Regions from separate parts of the Homo sapiens genome. Here region 1 is linked to region 2. The links are contacts of gene promoters, found by promoter capture Hi-C in human tissues and cell types (Jung and others, 2019). All regions are on one chromosome and are shown on one strand. The core of a region is centred on a gene start or on the middle of the fragment in contact, and the rest is flanking DNA. Distances in the headings are between cores, read along the strand shown. Region 1 overlaps GLTP (glycolipid transfer protein). Region 2 holds the start of FAM222A (family with sequence similarity 222 member A).

Region 1 (5,696 bases), core at 729-3,228, 160 kb before region 2:
GCCATTGAATTAGGCAGTAACTCATTTCTAATCCTCATGATGAACTTAGGAGGAATTTGGCACCATTTTCCAGAAGAGGAAACCAATGTGCAGGGAGGTGAAGCGATTTGATCAGGTCATGAAGGTAGGAAGTGGTCCACAGGACTTTACAGCAGGTCTAGCCCTGTAACAGGGGAGACCAACACCACATCAGGAAACAGGAAGACGTTGGAAGTCGTCTCTAGGGCAGAAATGTCCCTTGTAGGGGAGGAGGGGAAATGATAGGAAGTTCCCGGCTGGCATGACAATGTGATTATTTCAATGAGCTTCTTAGAATGGAAATATTGGGGCCGGGCGCAGTGGCTCATGCCTGTAATCCCAACACTTTGGGGGGCCGAAGCGGGTAGATCACGAGGTCAGGAGTTTGAGACCAGCCTGGCCAACATGGTAAAACCCTGTCTCTACTAAAAATACAAAAAAAAATTGGCCAGGTGTGGTGGCGCAATCCTGTAATCCCAGCTACTCTGAAGGCTGAGGCAGGAGAATCGCTTGACCCAGGAGGCGGAGGTTACAGTGAGTCGAGATCACGCCACTACTCCAGCCTGGGACAGAGCGAGAGTCCGTCTCAGAAAAAAAAAAAAAAAAAAAAAAGAATGGAAATGTTGGGTCCTAGTCTTAGGTTTCATTGTTTCAGTAAAAACCTGCCAGAGTGAATGTTAACTCCTTTTATTACGTACTTACAGTGGTACTTATATGGAGGCCTTTTTTGTGGTTCTTGCTAGAGTGTTAACTGTATCTGAGCTTTTCAAAGTCATTGCAGTGGATCAGCCCTCTCCAGGGTCTTCTAGAAGCCTCTGCTTTCCACCCTGGCAGTTAGGCAGTCGACTCACACTTCCCCTGTGTTCAGAAATGATTCATTTTCTGCCTTGCTGTTCCTCCAAGTTCCTTACTTCACTCCCTTCTGAGATCTCTGTCTTAATGGTCTGGAATACATTTGAAGTCATTATTTTATGATGGGGAGATTTCTGCTAATTTTACCCCTAACAATCAATCAATGAGTCAATAATTCTTTTTCTCCCTCCTCCCTTCCTTCCTCTCCTTCTGCTTTGATTTCTTAATCATTGGAATAATTGTTTTCTGGATTTCCTCTCTAAAGAAAAGCTTTGTCTGTTGGGAAAGGTGATGATGATATAATTTATAATAATAAGCATAAATGATAATACCTTCTTTTTATTTTATTTTATTTTATTTTATTTTATTTTTGAGACAGAGTCTTGCTCTGTCACCAAGGCTGGAGTGCAGTGGCATGATCTCGGCTCACTGCAACCTCCACCCTCCCCCTAGGTTCAAGCAATTATCTTACCTCAGCCTCCCAAGTAGCTGGAATTATAGGCACACACCACCACACCCAGTTAATTTTTGTATTTTTAGTAGAGATGGGGTTTCACCATGTTGGCCAGGCTGGTCTTGAACTCCTGACCTCAGGTGATTTGTCCGCTACAGCCTCCCAAAGTGCTGGGATTACAGGCCTGAGCCATGGTGCCCAGCCTAATACCTTCTTTTTCACTGAGCACTTACTAGGTACCAGAAACTGTGCTTAGGCCTTTATTTATACAACTTTATTTAAGCCTCACAGCAACCCTTTGAAGAAGGGTCCATTATGAGCCTCATTTTAAAAATGAGGAAACTTGCCGAGTGCGGTGGCTCATGCCTGTAACCCCAGCACTTTGGGAGGCCCAGGCAGGCAGATCTCTTGAGGTCAGAAGTTCGAGATATGGTGAAACCTTGTCTCTTTTAAAAATACAAAAATTAGCCAGGCATGGTGGCACAAGCTACTCAGGAGGCTGAGGCAGGAGAATGGTGCGAACCTGGGAGGTGGAGGTTGCAGTGAGCCGAGATCGCGCCACTGCACTCCAGCCTGGGCAACAGAGTGAGAGTCTCAAAATAATGATAATAGTTTTCCCAGTTGAGTGTGGTGGCTCACACCTGTAATCCCAGCACTTTGGGAGGCCGAGGCAGGCGGATCACAAGGTCAGGAGATCAAGACCATCCTGGCCAACATGGTGAAACCCTGTCTCTACTAAAATACAAAAAAACAAAAAAAAAAAAATTAGCTGGGTGTGGTGGTGCTTGCCTATAGTCTCAGATACTCGGGAGGCTGAGGCTGGGGAATCGCTTGAACCTGGAAGTTGGAGATTGCAGTGAGCCGAGATCAGGCCACTGCACTCCAGCCTGGCGACAGAGTGAGACTCCGTCTCAAAAAAAAAAAAAAAAAAGAATTTTCCCAACTGCATCATTCTTAGTTCAAGACTGTTTTTTCCTGAACCGGGAGCAATTATAGGACAAATAGTTGGCATGTCATGAGGGTGAAGTTTTTCTTTTTTTCTTTCTCTTTCTTTCTTTCTTTCTTTCTTTTTTTTTTTTTTTTTGAGGTAGAGCCTTACTCTGTCGCCCAGGCTGGATTGCAGTGGCGCAATCAATCTTGGCTCACTGCAACCTCCCCATCCTGGGTTCAAGTGATTCTCCTGCCTCAGCCTCCTGAGAAACTTGGATTACAGACGTGCACCACCATGCCCGACTCATTTTTGTATTTTTAGTAGAAACGGGTTCACACTATGTTGGCCAGGCTAATTTTGAACTCCTGGCCTCAAGTGATCCACCCGCCTTGGCCTCCCAAAGTGCTGGGATTACAGGAGTAAGCCACTGTGCCTGGCCCGGGGGTGAAGTTTTTAAAGAAGTATTTTGAATTGTTTTGTAAACATTCTTTCCTCTTTAGGTAGTAGACTCAGAGCAGGAACCTGTTTTAGAAATGTAGGTAATCTCAAGGCTCGTATCCTTAAAAATAGGCCTTATAGTAAGCAGAGCCATGACAACCCGCACCCCCAGATTAATAAATGATTCATCTCCATCAGCTGTAATTTGAGTGTCTTCCATTATGATCCTTGTAACCCAAGACCTATAAAGTTAATCTGCCTCATGTGTTTAACAACTGAACTTTATTATCCAGCTATGAAAAAAACCATTGAATTTGCAATAGAACCTCCCCACACCAGGCTTGTAGCATCACGACACGGGCATCCTGTTCTTCCTTTCTGGAAATGACTGTTTATGAATTGGGTTAGGTGTGTTCTGTCCTGAATCACACAGGCTGAAAGTGAAGCAAGCTGTGCATCTTTAAGAGTCCTTTTTTTTCCCTGAACATTGTTCTTGAGATGAAACGAGAGGGTAGGCCAGGGCAGGGCAATTTGGTCACCTTGTTACTCAATGTCAGGAACATCCCATGTTGTAAGAGATGGCTGTTTGAAGAGGCAGGCATGGAGGGGCAGCTTGGATGGCAACTTCCAGGTATATGCTGTGGTCTTGCTAAGAGCATAACGACCAGTACTGTCCAACTCTCTTGAGGCCAGAAAAAGAGGAAATGAGGTCGGGTACAGTGGCTCCTGCCTGTAATTCCAGTGCTTTGGGAGGCCAAGGCGGGAGGATCACTTGTGGCTAGGAGTTCAAGACCAGCCTGGGCAACAAAGTGAGTCCCCATCTCTACAAAAAATTAAAAACAAAAAATTAGCTGGTCGTAGTGACATGTGTCTGTAGTCTCAGCTACTCCAGAGACTGAGGCTGGAGGATCACTTGAGCCTCGGAGGTCAAAGCTGCAGTGAGGCCAGGCGCGGTGGCTCACGCCTGTAATCCCAGCACTTTGGGAGGCCAAAGCGGGTGGATCACGAGGTCAGGAGATCGCGACCATCCTGGCTAACACGGTGAAACCCTGTCTCTACTAAAAATACAAAAAATTAGCCAGGCGTGGTGGCGGGCACCTGTAGTCCCAGCTACTCAGGAAGCTGAGGCAGGAGAATGGCGTGAACCCAGAAGGCGGAGCTTGCAGTGAGCTGAGATCGTGTCAGTGCACTCCAGCCTGGGCGACAGAGCGAGACTCCGTCTCAAAAAAAAAAAAAAAAAGAGAAAAGAAAAAGCTGCAGTGAGCTGTGATTGTGCCACTATACCCCATCCTTGGTGATACAATGAGACCCCATCTCAAAAGAAAAAAGAGAAATTAGTGTGATTCTGTGTAGCATATGGTCACTGCTGGCTTACAGGGAATTCTGCTTTCTGGGCAATGTCACCCATCTGAACTGTGGCAGAGATCCAGGCAGGAGGCCCCAGATAGCCCTTGTCTAGTCAGAATTGTCCCAGAGGCCATGCATGAAACCCCTCATTGGTGCATACCTTCTCTTTGCAGGAGATTCTGATTCTGGTGGCTATTTGGTATTTAAGTATCTATAAGAATTTGGCTGGGCACGGTAGCTCACGCCTGTAATTCCAGCACTTTGGGAAGCCGAGGTGGGTGGATCGCTTGAGCTCAGGAGTTTGAGACCACCCTGGGCAACATGGTGAAACCCTGTCTCTACTAAAATACAAAAAATTGGCCTGGCATGGTGGCGTGCGCCTGTAGTCCCAGCTACTCGGGAGGCTGAGGCACGAGAATTGCTTAAGCTCGGGAGGCGGAGGTTGCAGTGAGCCGAGATTGCTCCACTGCACTCCGGCTTGGGCTATAGAGTGAGACTCTGTCTCAAAAAAAAAAGAATAATAAATAATTGAAGCACTGCAGGAAGAAGTAGCTGTCAACCATCAACAGGAGTTTTAAAAAAATACACAAAGTTGGCCAGGTACAGTGGCTCATGCCTGTAATCCTAGCACTTTGGGAGGCCGAGGCTAGAGGATTGCTTGAGCCCAGGAGTTCAAGACCAGCCTGGGCAATGGTATAGTGAGTCCCAGTCTCTACAAAAGGTAAAAAAAAAAAAAAAAAAAAAATTAGCCCAGCATGGTGGTGCACATCTGTAGTCCCAACTACTCTGGAGGCTGAGGTGGGAGGATTGCTTGAGACCAGGAGTTCCAGACTACAATGAGCCATGATTGTGCCACTGCATTCCAGCCTGGGCAACACAGTGATACCCTGTCTCAAAAAAAAAAAAAAAAAAGATACACAAAGCTGTCTAGTTGTCCTAAAAGCCTAAAGGCACACCATCCAGAGTCATTTAGTGACGGTTTGAGGGGACCAGTGACATTTCTGGGCTACATCTTTATCATAACTCGTATTTTTGATGATGGCCCTGTTCAGAAAGCTACGAATGGCTTCCACTATGAAAGCAGTGACATTTGTGTTACATTTTGATGAGTTCCATCCAGGATGGCTGAACTAGAATGCTGATGGTATATTCATATTTGAGAGCCAGGCACAGTGGTGCACACCTGTAGTCCCAGGTACTCAGGAAGCTGAGGCAGGAAGATCACTTGAGCCCAAGAGTTCTTGGCTGTAGTGTGCTACACTGATTGGGTGTCTGCACTAAGTTTGGCATCAATATGGTGACCTCCTGGCAAAGAGGACCACCAGGTTGCTTAAAGAGGTGTGAACTGGCCCAGGTCAGAAACAGCAGGTCAAAATTCCCATGCTAATCAGTAGAGGGATTGCACCTGTGAATGGCCACTGCACTCCAGCCTGCGCAATATAGCAAGACTCTTTTTTTAAAAAATGGTAGATGGAAAATATTTCACTTTTTTTTTGTTATTATTGAGATTAAGCATCTTTTCATTTCTATTGTGAATTGCCCATTGTTCTGTAGGGCTGTTGTTTTATTCTTACTGATTTGTAAGAGCTGTTTACATATTAGGGATATTAGCCTTTTTTCTGTTATCCTTGTTACACAGACTCTCTACTCTCTGCC
Region 2 (5,927 bases), core at 2,104-4,603:
AATCTGCCTTTTGGTGTGGACAAAGCATCTTGGTGGGGCCAGACTCCCCCTCCATGGCTGATAGCCTCTGATGCCTGCAGGGACCCCTGTCCAATAAGTAGGAGTGTCCCCCAAACCCCATGGGAGGAGGTGGTAAGACACAAGGACTCTGGAGCCAGGAGGGCAATTCAGGACCGAACCTCTGCAGCTGCCTGGCTGATCACCTGTAGCCCATCACTTCCTCTGTTTAAGCCTCAGTTTCATTAGCTATAAAATGGGCCACAGCGTATGAGCCACTCCAAGGAGTAACTGAGATCATGTAAAACGCCTGGCATATAGGGAGATGCTGAGAAAGCTGGCACTCCCTCCTGCTCATCGTCTGGCACGCTGAGTGCCAAGCCCAGGGAGATGAGGGAAGGGAACAGAAGGAATTGCCCAATTCTGACAGCCTTTCCCTCTGCCTTGGCTGTGGAAGTGTAAATACTCGGCAGAGGGCCTCCAACTGCCTGTGTTTGTGAATCTCTGGCGCGCACTCCGAGTTTGTTTCTAAACTGGGAAGCTTCGAGAGGCAGCGCAAACAGCCCTTCTGCCCACCTCTCCCGGCTCTCCCCCAATCTGCTGTTGCTCCTCTGTCCTTGGAAGCTTGTGTGTTTAACGACACCATTTCAGCTGGAAATACCATCTCCCTGCCAAGCCCCCAAAAGCAGCTCCACCGATATTTATTGACCTGTTAATCTAGCTAGAGAGCTTGGTAGAAGAGCAGGGAAAATGCTCGCTGCATAGACTGGGGCCTGGCTTCTCCTAATGACCCGAACACACACTTTCTCTGCTCTTACCCCGCCCCACGCTGCTGAGGCAATGACAGTTTTCGAACCTTTTCCTAGAAATGTGATCACAGCAGTTTCACCAGCACCCGACACTGGCAATAATTGCTGGAAGGGACCTAGACGAATCCCAGAGCCAGCAGCAGGATGCTTGCTGGGGGTTCTCTGGGCCTTTGCAGGGAAGCGTGCCAGTACTGGGGTGTGTGTTGGTTGGGGGTGCCCTGACAGAGACACAGTTTATTCAGACCTTGGCACTGATGGGCCTCACTTGCCCGCCATTCACTTAAGCAGCCTCACAATATGCTCGTTGAAATCCTCTTAAACACCAGAAGGAGCAGGGGGCAATCAGGAGTTCCAGGTTGGCCAAGGCCCCTGACCTTGGGGTAGAACAGCATGGGGAGCCCCTGGACTAGGGGTGCAGCAGGCAGCAGCTCCTCTGCACCTTCCTTGGCTGGGGGAGGGGCACCCACATTTTCCCCAGCAGAAGTAGCCTATTGGAGGGCCGGAGGCCCACATCTCTCTGGGGACCCTGGGAACTTCAGCCTGCCAGCTGGGTACATGGTGGGGTTCAGGGAGGTCTCTTCTATAGCATCTCTTTTCAAAACAGAAAGTTGCTCTGTCTGGGAGGCCTGAGCCCCGAGGCACAGGCCAGGCTACATGGGCAAAGCTCTGAACACCTGTCCTTGCGGGGAGGAGCATCAACAGGGACAGCTGGCACTGCCTCCCTCCCCCACCTTATGGGGCGCTAAGGATTTAGGTCAGAGGACTGCAATGGTAGGGGTGGGGGGAGTCCGCCTTCACCCCTCCACTACCCAAAGGCATCCAGCCCCGCCCCTTGTTACCACGACCCCGCCCCCTCCGGCCTTGGGTCAAGGCAAGTGGTGTTGCCACGGCAACCCCAGTGACATCAGAGGCTAAGGTTTGACGTCATGTCGTGCCCCCACTGGGGAACCTACCGTCCCTGCGAGTTATTTGTGGGAACGTGGTTTGAACGAGGGCTCTAAGGTCTAGCCCCATGGGGCACAATTCTCAAACGTGGCCACCTGCGTTTCTGGAACCCCAAATCCCCCTCTGAGGTGATTTCCCTTGAAGATCTCAGAGGCTGCTCGGGAGACCCTCAACGTTTTCCCATCCTGGGTGCCCCCCACCCCCCAGCCCTTCCAAGACACTGGAGTTCCCGGGGAATTTTCGGATGACACAGCCAATACCTTTGTTAGCTTTACGGGTGGGGTGACCTTTCCTCTCTGGCAACCAACCCGCCCAGGGTCCCGCGGAATCCGAATGGGCCCCCCAACCTCCACTCCCATCGGCTGGCCCATCTGAACAAGTTGTGTTTGGAGGGAGGAAAGGGGCGGACAAGGGTTATCTCTGCTTCAGGACCCCCAACAGCCTAGGACCCCTTCTGTCCAATCCTGGCTGCCCGGACGCCAGGGGGTGCCCCCAGCTCCAGCGCAGAACCCCGCCCCGCACAACTCACCGGATCAGCCAGGCCGTCGAAGGGCACCAGGTCTCAGCTACCACGACGCTCCGCTCGACGGGTCGCAGCCATGCAGGAGTGGCAGAGGCTGCCTGACGAAGCCCTCCTTGGGGGTCGATGCCTCTCTCCGGGTGGGAAGGGGCGCTGTCGGTGAGGGCTATCCTGGCGCCGGCCTGCGCCGTCCGAAGTCGGGGGGGAGGGGAGGTCTCCGTTCAGCAGGGGTCACGCCCGCCCCGGACGGGGGCCGCGCGGGCGCTCAGGCGACGCATCTTCGCCGGGGCCCGTGATCGCCACGTCCGGCGGGCGGCGCTGCGCCTCCCCTCGGGGCCCCGCTCAAGGCTGCAGCTCGGCCCGCGCCGCTCCCAGGGCGCCCTCTCCGCCCGCGCTGGGAGCCCGGCGGCCGCGGCCCCTTTCGCCAGCCCCAGCTGCAGCCTGTCTTTGTTGCTTCCTCTCGCTCGCCCGCCCGCCCGCGGCTTGCAGCCCCCGGGTTCGCCCCGAGGTGGAGGGATTGTCTCCTTCGGGGGTTGCACGCACCCGCAGCGGCCCCGGCTCCTCGCCGGACATACACCGGCCCCTGCAGGTTGCAAAGAACAGCGGCGAGAATGCACCGGCCCCTCCTCCTCCTGCTCTGAGCCCCGGGTGTGGGGGGAGGGGAAGCCGGCGAACAGCGGCGGCGGCAGCGGCGGCGGCGGCGGCAGCGGGCGACGCAAGCTCGGATGCAGCCTCGGGGGCCTCGGCGCTGAGAAACAGCCGATCCCAGTGGCGCAGGACGGACACGAGGACGGCCCGGGGGACTGTGCACCGGGTGTGCGAGCTCGCAAGCCGCAGCAGGGGCCGCGCGCGCTGGGCTCTCACGCGCCCATGGCCCCGGGCGGCGCGCGGGGGCTCCCGGGGCCGCAGCCTCGCGCCGTCTGGCGCGCGCCGGCGCCTCGCCTGGTCTCAGGCCCGGGTGCCGCGCGCCGCGCCCCACAGGCGCCGGGCCCGGCTGTCCGCCTCCCCCGGCCGGCGCGCGCAGCCTCTCCGCGGAGCAGCCGGCCAGGCAGTCCTGCCCGCTGCTCCGCTCTGGCCCGACTGACAGGCGCGAGCGCCGGCAGCAGCCCCCGCGTCTCGTCCCCCGCCCGCCCCCCGCGGCCCAGCCCAATCAGCGGCGGCTGAGAGGCGGTTACCAGGGTGACGCGGCACCGCGTCCTGCGAGGGGCGGAGCCGGGGGCCGCCACGCGCGCTTTTCGCGGCAAAATTCAAAGGCCGGCAGGGCGGCTCTCCAACCTCCTCCCCCAAGCAGGGACGAGGCGGAACTTGCCTCGCGAGGACTGCAACTCCCGGCATGCTGCGCGCCGGCGCCGGGTGGAGGGGCCCCGACTGGGGGCGCAGGGCGTGCTGGTTTTTGTAGTCCCACTAGGGGTGGCAAAACCAGTGTCATTTACTGATCACATATTTGGGACAAGGCACTGTATAAGTGCATTATCGGCATTATTTCATTTAATCTTGGCAAAAACCAACCTCATGAGGAATTTGTTAAAAATAACAACTATAGCTAACACTTATGTAGCAAAGTATTTTATCTAATCCTCACAACACCGTGTGAGTGGGTATTACTATCACCCCCATTTTACAGATGAGAAAACTGATACGGTAGGTACTATTATTATACTTCCAACTTACAGAGGAAACTGAGGTAAGGAGATGTGAAGTGACATGGTCCTGGATGTTTTTGTCCTAAGGCTTATTTTTGGCAGCGATGTGTTTTTGGCATCACAGTTGTGATCTGTGGAGCGCTAACTATATAACCCAGCACAGCGCTGAGCAATTTGCAAGCTACACCTTCTAGACGTACCCCACGCCCACAGGAGACAGGCACTAGCCTACTCCCCCACTTAATAGATAGGGAAACTGAGGCATAGTTTCACATCAACCTGGGGTTCAAATATGAATCTATCAAACTATACTGTGCTTTCCCTTTTACTTTTAAAGAAGCTTCCTGGGTTCTCACAGCCCATGGGCGGCCCGTCTAGCAGTCTCATTTACAGATGGGGAAATTGAGTCCTGGGTGGGGCAGTTCCCTCAGTTGCTGTGTGTCCATCACACAGCACTGTAGGAAGCCAGCTTTCCGGGATAATAACAAAGATCCCCACAGAAATGCAGAGCAGCAGTCAGACCCCCCACCCCTCAGGCTATGCCCGTGTGATACCTGGAGTCCCACCGAAACTGGGTGGGATTGCAGCCCTGCCCTTGCTGGTTGTTGGTCTTGGCCATTTACCTTCACGGGTCTGCGCCTCAGTTTCTTGTCTGTGAAATGGGGGGCATCATAATTCCTACCTTACAGCGTAGATTTGAGGGCAAAATGAATTCTTGCATGTAAAGGACTCAAAACACACATTAAGTGCTCAATAAATGCCCTCTGTACTCACCCGGGCTGGAGGGCTTTGGAGACCCTGGGGAGCGTATCCAGCGGACGGGCTGATTATAGACGGGCCCTAGCCTACTTCCAGGAGCCAACCCACCCCGCCGGGAGAGGCGCCCGCGGCGGACCTCCAGGGCCGGCCCAAGTGGGTCACCCGCCGCCTTATCTAGGACAGGAGCTGGCCCTGTTTCAGGCCTCTAAGCGGCTGCTCGGCGCGCTGTTCCCAGCAGCTCCGCTCTATTTCTCCGCGGCCGCCCCCATCTCCTCCCCTTCCCTCCCCAGGCTGAAGGTGGGGGTGGGGATTTACCTGGAAATGTGTTATGCCTCCAGCTGCTTCCCGCTCGGGCCAGCAGCCAGGGCTGCGGGGACGTCAGGGAGGGCGGCCGGGGCGACTGGATGGGTGGACCCAGCGTGTGGACAGGTGGGGAGACCAGACTTCAGCTGAGGACAGGGCGAGGGACAGTAACAAGCAAACCCTGGGAAATGAGAGAGATCGCGAAGAGGAGAAGAAGGCAGCAGTTCGCACCACAGCCTGTCAAAAGTTTGGGATTTTTTTCATTGTAGGTCACCATGACTTCACACCTACTGTGTGTCAGGCATGGGCTCACTGCTATTTATCTCACATAACTCCTTTTACCCTCGCAGAAACCCTATAAGGTATATACGATCACTATGCACATCCTACAGCAGAGGAAGGCCACATGACTTACCCAAGGTCACACAAATGACAGAACCAAAGTCCAGAGCCCTGACGTTGATTTATTGCACCTTGTGGCAGCCACTGTCTGACCGTGTGCAACCTTGAGGGGAGTTTCTTCTCTTCTCTGGACCTCAGTTTCCCCTGCCATGAAATGGAGGGTAGGACCCAAACCCCAGCCCTACCAATCAGACTCTCCTTGGTGGGACAGCAGTTTCCAAAGCTCCTATGTGGTTCCTGATACAGCCAGGGCTGACAACCCCAGGTCGAGAAGATCTCAAAAGACCCCTCCATCTCTGAAGTTCTATGAGTCCACGATGTGCTCATGGTGGAATTTCCGACAGCAGCAGGCTCCAAGGCAGCTGTCCAGCAGGAGAGGTCAGAGCCTTCCAGATGCCTGTCGCTCCCCTCCAGGCAGGTGAATGCCCCGTAAGATGCTCTGCCCCACTCCCCACACTCCCAGTGCCCCCCTACCCCATATGCCCATCTCCCTGAGATCAGACCCTCGTGCCTTTGCTCTTGGTCGACTCCAATAACTGCATTATGTGA

Evidence for each region. The method cuts DNA at HindIII sites, captures the fragments that hold promoters and counts their contacts. A contact is called where the count stands out against the background at its distance.
Region 1: a fragment that was not itself captured here is called in contact with the fragment with the promoter of FAM222A in region 2 in 2 of the 25 tissues and cell types used here (IMR-90 fibroblasts and neural progenitor cells).

What each region holds. Positions count from the first base shown.
Region 1 is chr12:109,866,016-109,871,711 of GRCh38, reverse strand. The region is part of intron 1 of GLTP (glycolipid transfer protein); the gene reads left to right. It also overlaps the pseudogene RN7SL441P. Among named protein-coding and RNA genes, the nearest start is that of GLTP, 12 kb to the left of the region's middle. The HindIII fragment of the contact is 8,954 bases long and covers 1-5,696 here.
Region 2 is chr12:109,711,251-109,717,177 of GRCh38, reverse strand. It overlaps FAM222A (family with sequence similarity 222 member A), which reads right to left and starts at 3,353. Exons shown (of 3, transcript NM_032829.3): 1 at 2,281-3,353. RefSeq lists silencers at 3,213-3,262, 3,293-3,622 and an enhancer at 4,328-4,891. The HindIII fragment of the contact is 9,746 bases long and covers 1-5,927 here.